Regions from separate parts of the Homo sapiens genome. Here regions 2, 3 and 4 are each linked to region 1. The links are contacts of gene promoters, found by promoter capture Hi-C in blood cells and fetal thymus (Javierre and others, 2016). All regions are on one chromosome and are shown on one strand. Each heading gives the region's core, a stretch centred on a gene start or on the middle of the fragment in contact. The rest is flanking DNA. Distances are from core to core; before and after follow the strand shown. Region 1 holds the start of LINC03102 (long intergenic non-protein coding RNA 3102). Region 2 has its middle 85 kb from the start of CTH. Region 3 overlaps LRRC40 (leucine rich repeat containing 40). Region 4 overlaps LRRC40 (leucine rich repeat containing 40).

Region 1 (3,004 bases), core at 63-2,562:
CGTCTGCTTGTAGTCCCAGCTGCTCGGGAGGCTGAGGCAGGAGAATGGCTTGAACCCAGGAGGCAAAGGTTGCAGTGAGATTGCACCACTGCACACCAGCCTGGGCGATAGAGCGAGACTCTGTCTAAAAAAATAAATAAATAAATAAAAGAATTACATCAAATTTTATCCCTTCTTAGCACAAATTTTTTTTTAACTTGGCATAGAATTCAGAGCCAGGAAATTGTGTTGAACTAACTTTCCAAATAAAATTTAGCATGTCATTCTATTATGAACGTATGCCACAAACCACAATAGTATTAGCATTAGTAGTACCTGTGACTTCACAACCAAAAAAACCACAGGTATTTTCATTTCACATAACAGTTGCTGCAGACAACTCAAAATTTCATTTATAGTCATTAGTACCTCTAAAATTATCTTAATAGGTATGCTCATTGCTATATCTTGTTCTTTAATTAGTTAATAAAGAAGCATATACATTACTGTATTACAAATTTGCTTTTAAAATATTTTGTTAGGTATTTCAATACTCAGAGTTTCCTTTTAATCCAAAATATTTTATGCATTTAAAAACACTGTTCTGAAAATGGGTCCCTGGGTTTCTCCACACTGCCAAAGAGTCAATGGCACAAAAACAGAAGTTAGGAACTTCTTCTTAGGAATCTTTGATGATACCTGCCCATTCGTCTCCTTTTCTCTCCTATCCAACAAACCCATCGTTCTGAATTAGGTGTCCCTCCTTTGTCTTCTTTTTGATTTCCCATTGTAACTTCTGCATGCCTCCTTGATATTCTTGTCTGGTCTCAACTAATCCTTGGAGCTCTCTGAGCACTGGAATCATGCTGATCATTGCTGTATGCACAGTGCCCTACAGGGAGTGAATGCTTATATTAATAATAAGCAGTTGTTGAATTAATCAGTCTATTAGAACACAAAACCCCAAGTATCTACAAGGTACTAAGACAACTGCAGACTCAGTAATGAGATGCTAAATAAACTTCTTAAATAATCCCAATATAACTACACTGAAATTAGCTGCTACACTCTTGAATTCTTACATGAAGCCAAAGAGTAGATATATCATTTAGGACTTTTTGTTTTTCATGTAGAAGTAACAATAAATTCAATTGAAACAGGGTTAAATTAAAGGAATGTATTGACTTACATACCAGAAAGGTGCAGAGATAAGTCTTCAAGAGTGGCCCCTCAGGATCCCATGTCAGTTTTTCAGTGAATCTCTCGGTGTTTCTCTCTGTATGAGGAGTCCTCCTCAGGCCTGCTTCCTTCAAGAACACAAGATAACTGCCAGCAGGTAAAAGCAGCCACGTGCTTCCTCCTTAAGGTCCAAAGGAGTTCCTGCTCCCACATAAATCTGGAGTATGACAGTTACAAGATAACTCAGTCCAATCTGTGTCCCAGAGAACGGTGATTGGCTCAAGCCTGGGTTATCTGACAAACCCCTGTGAAGGAGGGGTTACTCAGATTAGTTTCACCCAATCAGGATTGATCTCGGAGCCGGAGGTGGGGCCCAGCTCTCCAAACAGTGAACTGTTTCATAATGGGAATGAGGTGGGGAATAATGTTGGAGAGACAAATGCAAGAGTGGTCAGCAAAAGTACTATATCCAAAGACTTAAAACAGGATTTTGCTTCAAAAAAATCTGTTATCACAGTGTCTTGAATTCAATATGATAAAATATGTAGTGATTATCAATTATATCAATATGTAATGAGTAAATAACTTCACTGGTAAACACTGTATTTACTTTTTATTCAAATTTTACAAGATAGAATGCAATCCATCAATTCAAGTATAGAACTAAACTACTGGCCAGGCGCAGTGGCTCACGCCTGTAATCCCAGCACTTTGGGAGGCTGAGGCGGGTGGATCACCTGAGGCCAGGAGTTCGAGACCAGCCTGGCCAACATGGCGAAACCCCGTCTCTACTAAAAATACAAAAATTAGCCGGACGTGGTGGTGGACCCCTATAATCCAAGCTACCTGGGAGGCTGAGGCAGGAGAATCGCTTGAACCTGGGAGGCAGAGGTTGCAGTGAGCCGAGATTGTGCCATTGCACTCCTGCCTGGGCAACAGAGCTAGACTCCATGCCAAAAGGAAAAAAAAAAAAACCCTGAGAACTAAACTACTGAATTTGCTAGGTAATACTCTGTAGTTCTACAAATTAGCAAATTAATTTCTCTCCTGGTGTAGTTAACTCAATAATGCTCAATTTGCCTTGAATAGCAAAAAGCTTCTGAAAAATGAATGTTTTTCAACTTTTTCTAATGAGAGTTTTGTTAGATAGTTATGTGCTCACCAACACCAAACACTGACTAGACAGTTAAATCTGTCTCTAAGAAAGAACGTTGTGAATTTTGCCAGAAATTTATGTATCTCTATTAGCCCTACACAAAGCACCTAATCCCTGTCCTGGTGTCTTCATTTAACAAAAGCAGTAGTATGGTAACATGAAATACAGAACAGCAGTACTGTACAAAATAAAATCTCACTCGTTATATTTTTTAAATATATCAACAGACTTCCAATTAGGATCTGTAGTTACTAACCTTACTCAATTCTCATTGCATTGCATACTAATAATGTTTCTAATGTAAATATTAGTGCAAGTTTAGTCTACATCTTTTTTCTTTCATCTTCTCTGAAGATTTGTGTTTTATATTCTCACAATAATCTGGAATATGATTTCCTACATTCCACAATGGTTGAACAAGATCTAGGAGTATTTTGTTTGATAGATGATAGGGCTATCTAACTAATGAGGTAATTGTCTCTGAAATCTGACGACACAGCAGTACACTGACAGATGAAAATAACAAACCATGTAAATCAATACTTAATTCACACATTTTACTTCCATCTCCCTGGGTCTCAGTATTTTTCTCTTTCCTCTAAATCTGCCCCCTTCCTTTCTCAGAGGCAATGCAGAGCACTTTCCCTTTCTTCTACGGTTTCTGATCAGTGGTTATCAGTGATTTTGTAA
Region 2 (3,006 bases), core at 449-2,948, 140 kb after region 1:
GACGCAAGACTAGCAACTTTGGTAAAAAGAGCTAGTCATTACCCTCTTAATGTGAATTCATTTATGTATTGATTTGCTCCATGTCCTGGGCATCAAAATCCAGGCATTTAGAAAAAGAAGGATCTCTAAAAAGGGGTGAGCAGTGAGAGAAGACTGTAGAAAGAAGGAAGGAATAATAGAGAAACTTCACCCACTTCTTTGATAAGTAGGACCAGACTCCATGAGCCATTGATTACTTCTTGTGTCAGACTGGCACATATCAAGGAATTGAGTTTAGGGCCCAGCTGTGACCCCTGCAGGAAAATTTTTATTTGTACTTGGAAAATTATTTGTTTTTTATGTTTATTTGCTTTTAAGTACAGTTGTCCCTTGATATATGCAGGGGATTTGTTCCAGGCCCCCATCCATACCAAAATCCTTGCATACTCAAGCCCCACAGTGGGTCCTGCAGAACCTGAGTATATACAAACAGTTGGCCCTCCATATAGGTAGCTTTTGCATTTCTTTAATACTGGATTTTCAATCTAAGTTTGGTTGAAAAATCTCAGTATAAGTGGACATACACAGTCCAAATCTGTGTTGTTGAAGAGTCAACTGTTTAATGAAATTGATATGGTATAACTTTAGGGACTTTGATTCTCAACTACTCTAATGATACAAACTAGGTAATTTAACTCTGTGCACCTGCATTCAAGCTAATTCTTGGCTCTAAACTGTGGAATATAGGAGCACATGTTCTCAGGATCTCCCGAGGGCTGTGTCACAGAAATTTATATATATATAAAACAAGAAAGCTGGCACCTGAGTACGATAATTAAATTGGCAGAGATATTGAAATATGATCCCTGGAGGTTATTGATTATATGGCTCCCAGTAGTCTAATCTTTGGAGTTAAATCAACACATCCTGGTTTTAATGTAGGCCATGAATTGGAGCCTGCTTCTGCTTCATGACACTTAGAACAATGATTCTAAATATCTTTCAAGTTCACAAAGCTAGAATTTTTGAATTTTTTAATGCTAGATTTCTGTGGCATACTTAATGGAATTAATTTACCTCCATTCACAAATGATTGCTCTCTTTTGATTTGCTCTAATCTTGCATTGCTGTTTGATTAGAATGCTCATTTCCCTTATCTGGCTCACTTATATATGCAAGAGGCAAATTACTTCATGTTTCAATAAATAAATAATTATATTTTGGTCTCAGTTTGGGGTTAAGTTGTGTCTGTGTTACTCTTTTGTAAGCTGGATATTTCCTTATACCATTTTTATGGCCTATTTAGCTCAGAGTTTTGGCTCATAGATATTGCTGTAATATAGAGCTCTTCAGTTGTAGTGAAAGTGAAGTTTACACATTAAATAAAATAAGAAACTTTAAGATTTGTGCTACTTTGGCATGTAAAGTCTCACTTATAAACACATTATCTCATTTGTCAGGTGTTCATTGGCCAAATCAAATGTTTTCATTTGGGGCACTTGAAAGGATAGTATAATGCAGTTTCCCACCTCAAAATATTTTTTTATGTAATAAAGGAGATAAGAAAGTTAGCAAAATGAACGTGCTATAAAGGATGGTAAATGAGTCACAAGAATTCATAGGAGAGCAATTTCACTCTTGGGTAGTATCAGGCAGGTGGCTAGGCCCCTGCCACAGTTGGAGACCTTGAGCACCTTTCCCCATGGCTGGCCTTTACTCACACCAAGGGCTAGATGCCTTTGTACAGGGCACAACCTGCACAACTGTACCCTATAGTCTTGGCTTTGGGTAAGTATGACTTTATGTAAACAGCAGTTTTGAGCTGAGCAAAAGGGCTATAAAAACTATCCCTCCTTTTAGTAATCCAGATGGTGTGTTTATGATACGAAAGAGTAACACTTCAAGCATAGAAAAGACATTATTTACATTTTAGAAAATTAAAAATACTTTTGATAAAAGAACATTTTTAAGTAAGAGAAAATTAATGTGTTATTTTGTAAAAAGATGATAAGAGATCAAATTGCAGAGGTAGGATTAGTTCCATCTGATTCACAGAAACAACACTGCAATCAAATTCCCATTCGATAGCCACCACTGCTGCCAAAGCAAAGAGAAAACTTTTTCAGCTACCACTATATGAAAGGCTTTGAGAGATGTTCAGATTAAAGTAGTATATATTTGAGGACTCAAATATTAGTTAGGAATCTTTCAGATAACAGTTCTGAAATTGTAATTAAATTTGATTAGCACAGAGGAATTTGTCCTAATGAAAATGAAGTGTCTAGTGGGACCCATGGATAGAAATGCAGGTGCTACTCTGGAATAAATAGAAGGGACTTAAATATCCCAAAGTTATATCATCATCTCTCATCTCTGCTCACCTCTGTATATTTATTTTGTTCTCTTTTTGTTTCTAGTTCTCTGATCTAAAGACAAAAAAAAAATCCCCCTTTTCCTCTCCAACATCTCCTAAAATTTACTTATTACTGTGTCTGCCACTGGAGAGAAATTGGCTTTTATTCTCAGCTCCAGTTTCACAAATTACATGAAAAGGTCTGCTTGGTTCAGCAGGAGTCCGGCGTCTATCTCTGTGTAAGTAATTATAACCTAAGGGACAGTCATAGCATGTTAATGCAGTGATGTGGTGACAATGTGTAACAGTTGGCTCTTGGGGTGAGGAGAGAGGAGGTGCACCAATTTGCTAATTTGAGGTGTAAATATTCTCACGATGGCTGATTTCAAGAGACCAGTATGATATCACTGAATGTGGAGTTGGAAGAGGTGCTAACAATCAACTTTTGTAAGATAATATGAGGCAGCTCTGATAATGGCTGCTCCTGTAGTAACCATGTGGATGAGAGATCATTTCTTATGAAAGCAGGATACTTTGGGCAAAGAAATCAATGTGTCTAGCACAGCCTACGTGGTATAATAAATACTATAATTTCCCCTTCATGTGTTTTTACTCATTTTTAAAACTTAAGGTAATAGCATAATATATGACACAATATTGTTTTAGCTTACTGA
Region 3 (2,729 bases), core at 19-2,518, 190 kb before region 1:
GTCCTTACCAGACACCAAATCTGCTGGTGCTTTGATCACAGTTCTCTAGAACCATGAGCAATAAATTTCTGTTATTTATAAATTACAGTCTAAGATATTTTATTATAGTAGCCCAAACTGACTAAACAACTCACTTTCCAATGTCCACATGTTTATTATTTTATTTTTCCCCCATTCTCCCTATCTTTATGGAAGTACACCTTTAAAACATTTCCATTACCAATTTTCTTTTTGTGGGGTTTCTGGAAAGAATAAAATTATATGCATGGATTCACTCTCCCATCTTTGGATAGAAGCTGTCTAGCAGAAATGTTTGCATATAACTGTAACTTCCACTAAGTTCATCTTGGCTTTCTGTTCATAAAATTTTGATCAGTCTGACATGACCTCTAACTGATTCATGACAGAATAATCAATTTGTTCTGGAAGAGAAAGCATATTTGGAGAAGGAAACACTTTCCTTGGTAGAAAATAAGAGTCTTAGAAAATTATTTTAATAATTCACTTGAAGGATAAAGTAGAAAAAATAGCTAAACTACACAATTATCTTACTCATTTAATATATGTTGACTGGCAACATAGTGCTAAGCTAAGCTATGCATAACCAACAGAGTTGTGAGGTAAATTAACAGCTACTGCATTTAGCCATTATGTTTTGGAGTGGTTTGTTTCTTAGCATAGCACTCGTACAACTACTTTTTTTTTTCAAAATGTTTTAGTTTATTCTATAATGATAGACATGAAACAAAAATTGGGTATATGACATGTTTAGTGAATTATTAAAAATTAAGTTTATTGTATTATTTTCACTTTTGGTACATGTTCTTGCTAAATTAACATACCCTGAAAAGTATGTTTTGTCTTAAATTTTGTCAGAGTTTAGCAAAGCTGTGCACGAAAAATAGATAATGAAATACTTGTCAATATACTTTCTAGTCAATAGAACCCATATATCCTGAAAGTCAAGTTTTACTCCTTTTTCAAAGTTGAAGTACTAAGTGCTTACTGAATCTTTTTTGTTAAATTTCCTAATTGGCAGACTTAACACAATTCAAAGGGATTACAGATAGTACATTATTATTGTGAGTTTAAAGATATTTTTATAACCTCAGCATACTTACAGACTATATGGATTTAGAATTAGAGCCACACATGCCAGGATCTATTACTTCCAAATATGTATACCCAAAAGACATTTAAATTTATGTACTATTAATTCTTCACCACTTTTTATGAATCCTTCAAAATATAAGAGAACATTTTAAAGTACCTTTGATCTTGCTTCGTAGATATTTTAGGACTTCTTGTGTTCCTTTCTAGAAGGGTGGAGACAAAGACATTCACCAAGACATGCTTTGCAGTTTTACAGATCAACATATATGTCTGAATTTCAATTTAACAAAGAGCTGAATTCCAAATATACTTACACTTATAATTTCTCTTCGAATTGTTCTCAAAGGATTTCCTTCTAATGCCAAAAATTTCAAATGAAGGTTCCCCAATGAATAGGGAAGACTATAAAAGATTAAATTGATTTCAGGGAAAGCATCAAATATAAGTATACTCCAACCATAGTTAACTATAAAACATCATATGGCAAACAACATATCACAGAATAGTCTCAAAGAAAGGCCAAGTAATGCAGACCTAAAACATTTCCTTTCAAGATAAATGCTAAACATATAAAGGAAAAATCAGATTTGTTTTCAAAATTGTCATGCTGAGATTAATTTTAAAAAAGTGAGCTATAAAACATTTGTTAAATTATAACATTTGCTAAAAAAGTAAATGTTAAACATAAATTTGAATGAATCAGTGATTCAAGATAGACATCCTCACTGATACCAAATGTTTTGATTTTGCACTTAGAGCAAGGAAACAAAATTCTAATTGAAAAAAGATGACAAATAGAAAAAGATAATTTTTGAATGTCCAATTCATGTTTCCATTCAATAAAGAAAGTCATCTTCATCTCTGGCACATTTTAAAAACCATTCATACATAAAAATTCAATATCAATAAAATCTATTAAGCATCTACAAAATATAGGGCACTGGTATAGCGATATCAAGATTCTTGTTCTCAAGTCCTCAGTTAAACAAAGGAAAAAAACACATACAGCTAACTAAAATATAATAAGTATTATCTTACAATGCTGGTGGGAATATAAAATAGTACAGTCACTTTCGAAAGTGGAGTCTTTTAAACATATGGTCACTATACAACTAAGCAAACACACTGCTACACGTTTACTCAGGAGAAATGAAAATAATGTCCACACAGAAACTTGCACACAGATGTTTACAATAGCAAAAAATCAAAAACAACTCAAATGTCCATCAACTAACTACTGAAAAGACACATGAACTGCGGTATATCTATCTCTGTACAACAGAATAACACTCAGCAATAAAAATAAAACTACTGATACATACAACCACATGAATCACAAAAACTTTATGTTACATGAAAGAAGCCAGACACAAAAACTACATTCTATGTAATTCCATTTATGTGACATTCTAAAAAGGACAAAACTATAGTAACATAGCACATTAGTGGTTGCCAGGGGTTGGGGTATGGAAAGGGAATTGACTGCAAAAGGTATGAGGAAACTTTTTAGGGAGATAGAAATGTTCTACATGGCTGTGATTACGGTTACACAAATATATACCTTTGCCAAAAATCATCAAGTTGTATGCTTGATTGGTAAATTTTATTGTATATAA
Region 4 (3,190 bases), core at 390-2,889, 170 kb before region 1:
TAGGACTGCAAGGCTGGTTTAACATTTGAAAATTAATCAATAAAAGCTACCATATTAACAGAAAAATGAGAAATACTATGTGATTGTTGAGATACAAAAAAAGCATCTGACAAAATTCAACAATAAAAACTCAGAAAACTAGGAATCAAAGGGAACTCCTTCAACCTTACAAAGGGCATCTGTGAAAAACCTAAAACTAACACCATACTTAATGGTGGAAGACGCAGTGCTTTCTCTTTAAAAGAGTATACAAGGCAAGGATGCCCATTCTCACTACTTTAATATTTTAATAGAGGTCTTGACCAATGCAGTAAGACAAAAAGAAGAAAAAGAAATAAATAAAAGAAACAAAAGGCATTCAGATTGGACAAGAAGTAAAACTGTCCCAATTAACAGACACTATGATCATCTATGTACAAAGTGCTAAGGAATCTACAAAAAAATTATATGCAATCAATGAGTTTAGAACAGTCACAAAATTCAAGCTCAATATAGAAAAATCAACTATGTTTCTATGTATTAGCAATCAAATAAAAAAATGTTTAAATGTTAAAAGATTTACAATACAAGACATCCGAAACCATGAAATAGTATTAAATGTACAAAATATGTACAAGATCTGTATATGAAAATACAAAACATTGCTGTGAAAACTTGAAGGTCTAGATAATAAAGAAATGTAACATAAGACAGCTTGGAAGACTCCATATTACAAAGATGTCGCTTCTCCCCAAGTGACTTATAGATTCAGCACAATCCTAATAAAAATCCCAGAAAGCTTTTCTGTAGAAATTAACAAGCCAATTCTAAAATGTGTATTGAAATGCAAAAGAACTAAATTAGGTCAAAAAATTTTGAAATAAAAGAACAAAACAGGAGGCTTTATTCAGCACAATCCTAATAAAAATCCCAGAAAGCTTTTCTGTAGAAATTAACAAGCCAATTCTAAAATGTGTATTGAAATGCAAAAGAACTAAATTAGGTCAAACAATTTTGAAATAAAAGAACAAAACAGGAGGCTTTATAGTATTTGATTCCAAGTCTGACCATGAAGCTACATTTGTCAAGATAGTGTAGTATTAGCATAAGGATAAACACATAGGTCAATGGAAAAAGAGTTCAGAAAAAATTCCATACAATAAAATATTGAAAATTGATTTTCAACAAAGGTGCCAATATAATTTAATAAAAAAGGAATCATGTTTTCAACAAATGGTACTGGAATAACTATAAAATAAACTATAAAAATGAACCTCAACCTTTACCTTGTGACACACTCAAAAATTAACTCCAAATGGACCACGGACTTATATGTAAATGATGAAACTAAAAAATTCTAAAAGAAACAGAGGAAAAAATTTTCACAGCCTTCAGATGGGCAAAAAATGTCTTGGGACAGAAAAAGTTCATCATAAAAGAAAAACAATTGATAAACTAGATTTCATAAAAATTTATAACTTACATGTTTCTAAAGCTACCATTAATAAAATAAGCTAAACTGGGAGAAAATATTAGACAGATACTGATATAGATATCTGAGACGGAATTGTATCTCAAATATATACAAAGTCGTTACCCAAGAATAAAAACCCATTTAAAAAAAAAAAAAGACAAAAGTTGGAACAAACACTTAACAGAAGATATATAAATGGCTAAAAGGCAGTAGAAAAGATGCTAAACATCATTAGTTTTAAAGGACATGCAAATTAAAACCACAAAAAAATATGCCAACACAGCCACAAGAATAGTTAATATTTAAAAGACTGAATACAAAGTGCTGGTAATGAGGTGGAGGAACTGAATCTCTCATATGTTGCTAGTGGGAAACAGTTTGGTGAATTCTTATAATGTTAAATAAATACTTTTTGGGTTTTTTTGAGACAGGGTCTCACTTTCTCACCCAAGCTGGAGAGCAGTGGCGCAGTCCTGGCTCACTGCAACCTCCGCCTCCCGGGTTCAAGGGATTCTCTGCCTCAGCCTCCCGAGCAGCAGCTGGACTTACAGGCATGTGCCACCATGCCTGGCTAATTTTTGTATTTTTAGTAGAGGCGGGGTTTCGCCATGTTGGCCAGGCTGGTCTCGAACTCCTGGCCTCAAGTGATCCACCTGCCTCGGCCTCCCAAAGTGCTGGGAGTACAGGCGTGAGCCACCACGCCAGGACCTATACTTACTACTATACAATACAGCAATTCCATTGTCAGGTATGGATTCAACAGAAATGGTATGTCTACACAAAGACTTGTACATGAGGCACAGAGATCCATCATCTTATCTCACCACTGTCCAAGACACAGACACACCTTCCATTTGTAAGACCTACGAAATGTTTCTTTCTAAGAAAAAAAAAAAAGACTATACAAGAAAGCTTATAGCAATTTTATTCATAACAGCCAAAAACTGGAAACCACTCAAATGTCCATCAACAGACTAATGGATAAATAAATTGAATTGTATACACAAATGGACTATTATTCAGCAATTTAAAAAACTGCTGGCTGGGCGTGGTGGCTCATGCCCATAATTGCAGCACTTTGGGAGACCATAGCAGGAGGATCATTTGAGCCCAGAAGTTTGAGACCAACCTGGGAAAAAGAGCAAGACTTCGTCTCTATTAAAAACAAAAAAATTAGCCAGGCATGGTGGCATACACCATGAGTCCCAGATACTTGGGAAACTGAAGCAGAAGGATCACTTGAGACCAGAAGTTTGAAGTTGCAGTGAGCTATGACTGTGCCACTGCATGCTAGCCTGGGCAACAGAGGGAGACACTGTCTCAAGAAAGAAAAAAAAAGAACAACTGATGTAAACAACATGGATGAACCTCAAAAACATGATTCTAAACAAAAGAAGCCCTAAGCGAAAAAAAAAATTGCAAATGTATTATTTCATTTACATGCAATTTTAAAAGAACTAAAATTAATCTACATTGACAAAAAGCAGATCCGTAGTTATGTGGAGCCAATAGCAGGATTGACAGCAAAGGGGCACAAGTAAACTTTTCAAGATGTTGGAAATGTTCTATATCTTGATTGTAGTACTGGTTACATGATGGTATATATTTGTCAAAAGTCATTAAACTGTACACTTAAAATGGATGCAACATACTCTTTGTAAATGATACTTCAATAAAGTTAACCCCAAAAAAGAATAATTTTAAAATATAGGTGATGTAACACATCAAGGCAATTCT

What was found. The method cuts DNA at HindIII sites, captures the fragments that hold promoters and counts their contacts. A CHiCAGO score of 5 or more calls a contact.
Region 2: a contact is called between a fragment that was not itself captured here and the fragment with the promoter of LINC03102 in region 1, in 1 of 17 cell types (naive CD8 T cells). The highest score is 5.4, in naive CD8 T cells.
Region 3: a contact is called between a fragment that was not itself captured here and the fragment with the promoter of LINC03102 in region 1, in 1 of 17 cell types (activated CD4 T cells). The highest score is 5.7, in activated CD4 T cells.
Region 4: a contact is called between a fragment that was not itself captured here and the fragment with the promoter of LINC03102 in region 1, in 1 of 17 cell types (activated CD4 T cells). The highest score is 5.8, in activated CD4 T cells.

The regions. Positions count from the first base shown.
Region 1 is chr1:70,359,125-70,362,128 of GRCh38, forward strand. LINC03102 (long intergenic non-protein coding RNA 3102) reads right to left here and starts at 1,313. Exons shown (of 2, transcript NR_183713.1): 1 at 1,173-1,313; 2 at 435-871. The region is part of intron 1 of ANKRD13C-DT (ANKRD13C divergent transcript); the gene reads left to right. RefSeq lists an enhancer at 1-8 and a silencer at 1,245-1,438. The HindIII fragment of the contact is 2,416 bases long and covers 1-2,252 here.
Region 2 is chr1:70,494,698-70,497,703 of GRCh38, forward strand. No RefSeq gene overlaps it. Among named protein-coding and RNA genes, the nearest start is that of CTH, 85 kb to the left of the region's middle. The HindIII fragment of the contact is 6,948 bases long and covers 1-3,006 here.
Region 3 is chr1:70,172,195-70,174,923 of GRCh38, forward strand. LRRC40 (leucine rich repeat containing 40) reads right to left here. Exons shown (of 15, transcript NM_017768.5): 8 at 1,428-1,515; 9 at 1,271-1,316. Among named protein-coding and RNA genes, the nearest start is that of LRRC40, 32 kb to the right of the region's middle. The HindIII fragment of the contact is 4,336 bases long and covers 1-2,729 here.
Region 4 is chr1:70,193,775-70,196,964 of GRCh38, forward strand. The region is part of intron 1 of LRRC40 (leucine rich repeat containing 40); the gene reads right to left. Among named protein-coding and RNA genes, the nearest start is that of LRRC40, 10 kb to the right of the region's middle. The HindIII fragment of the contact is 1,448 bases long and covers 916-2,363 here.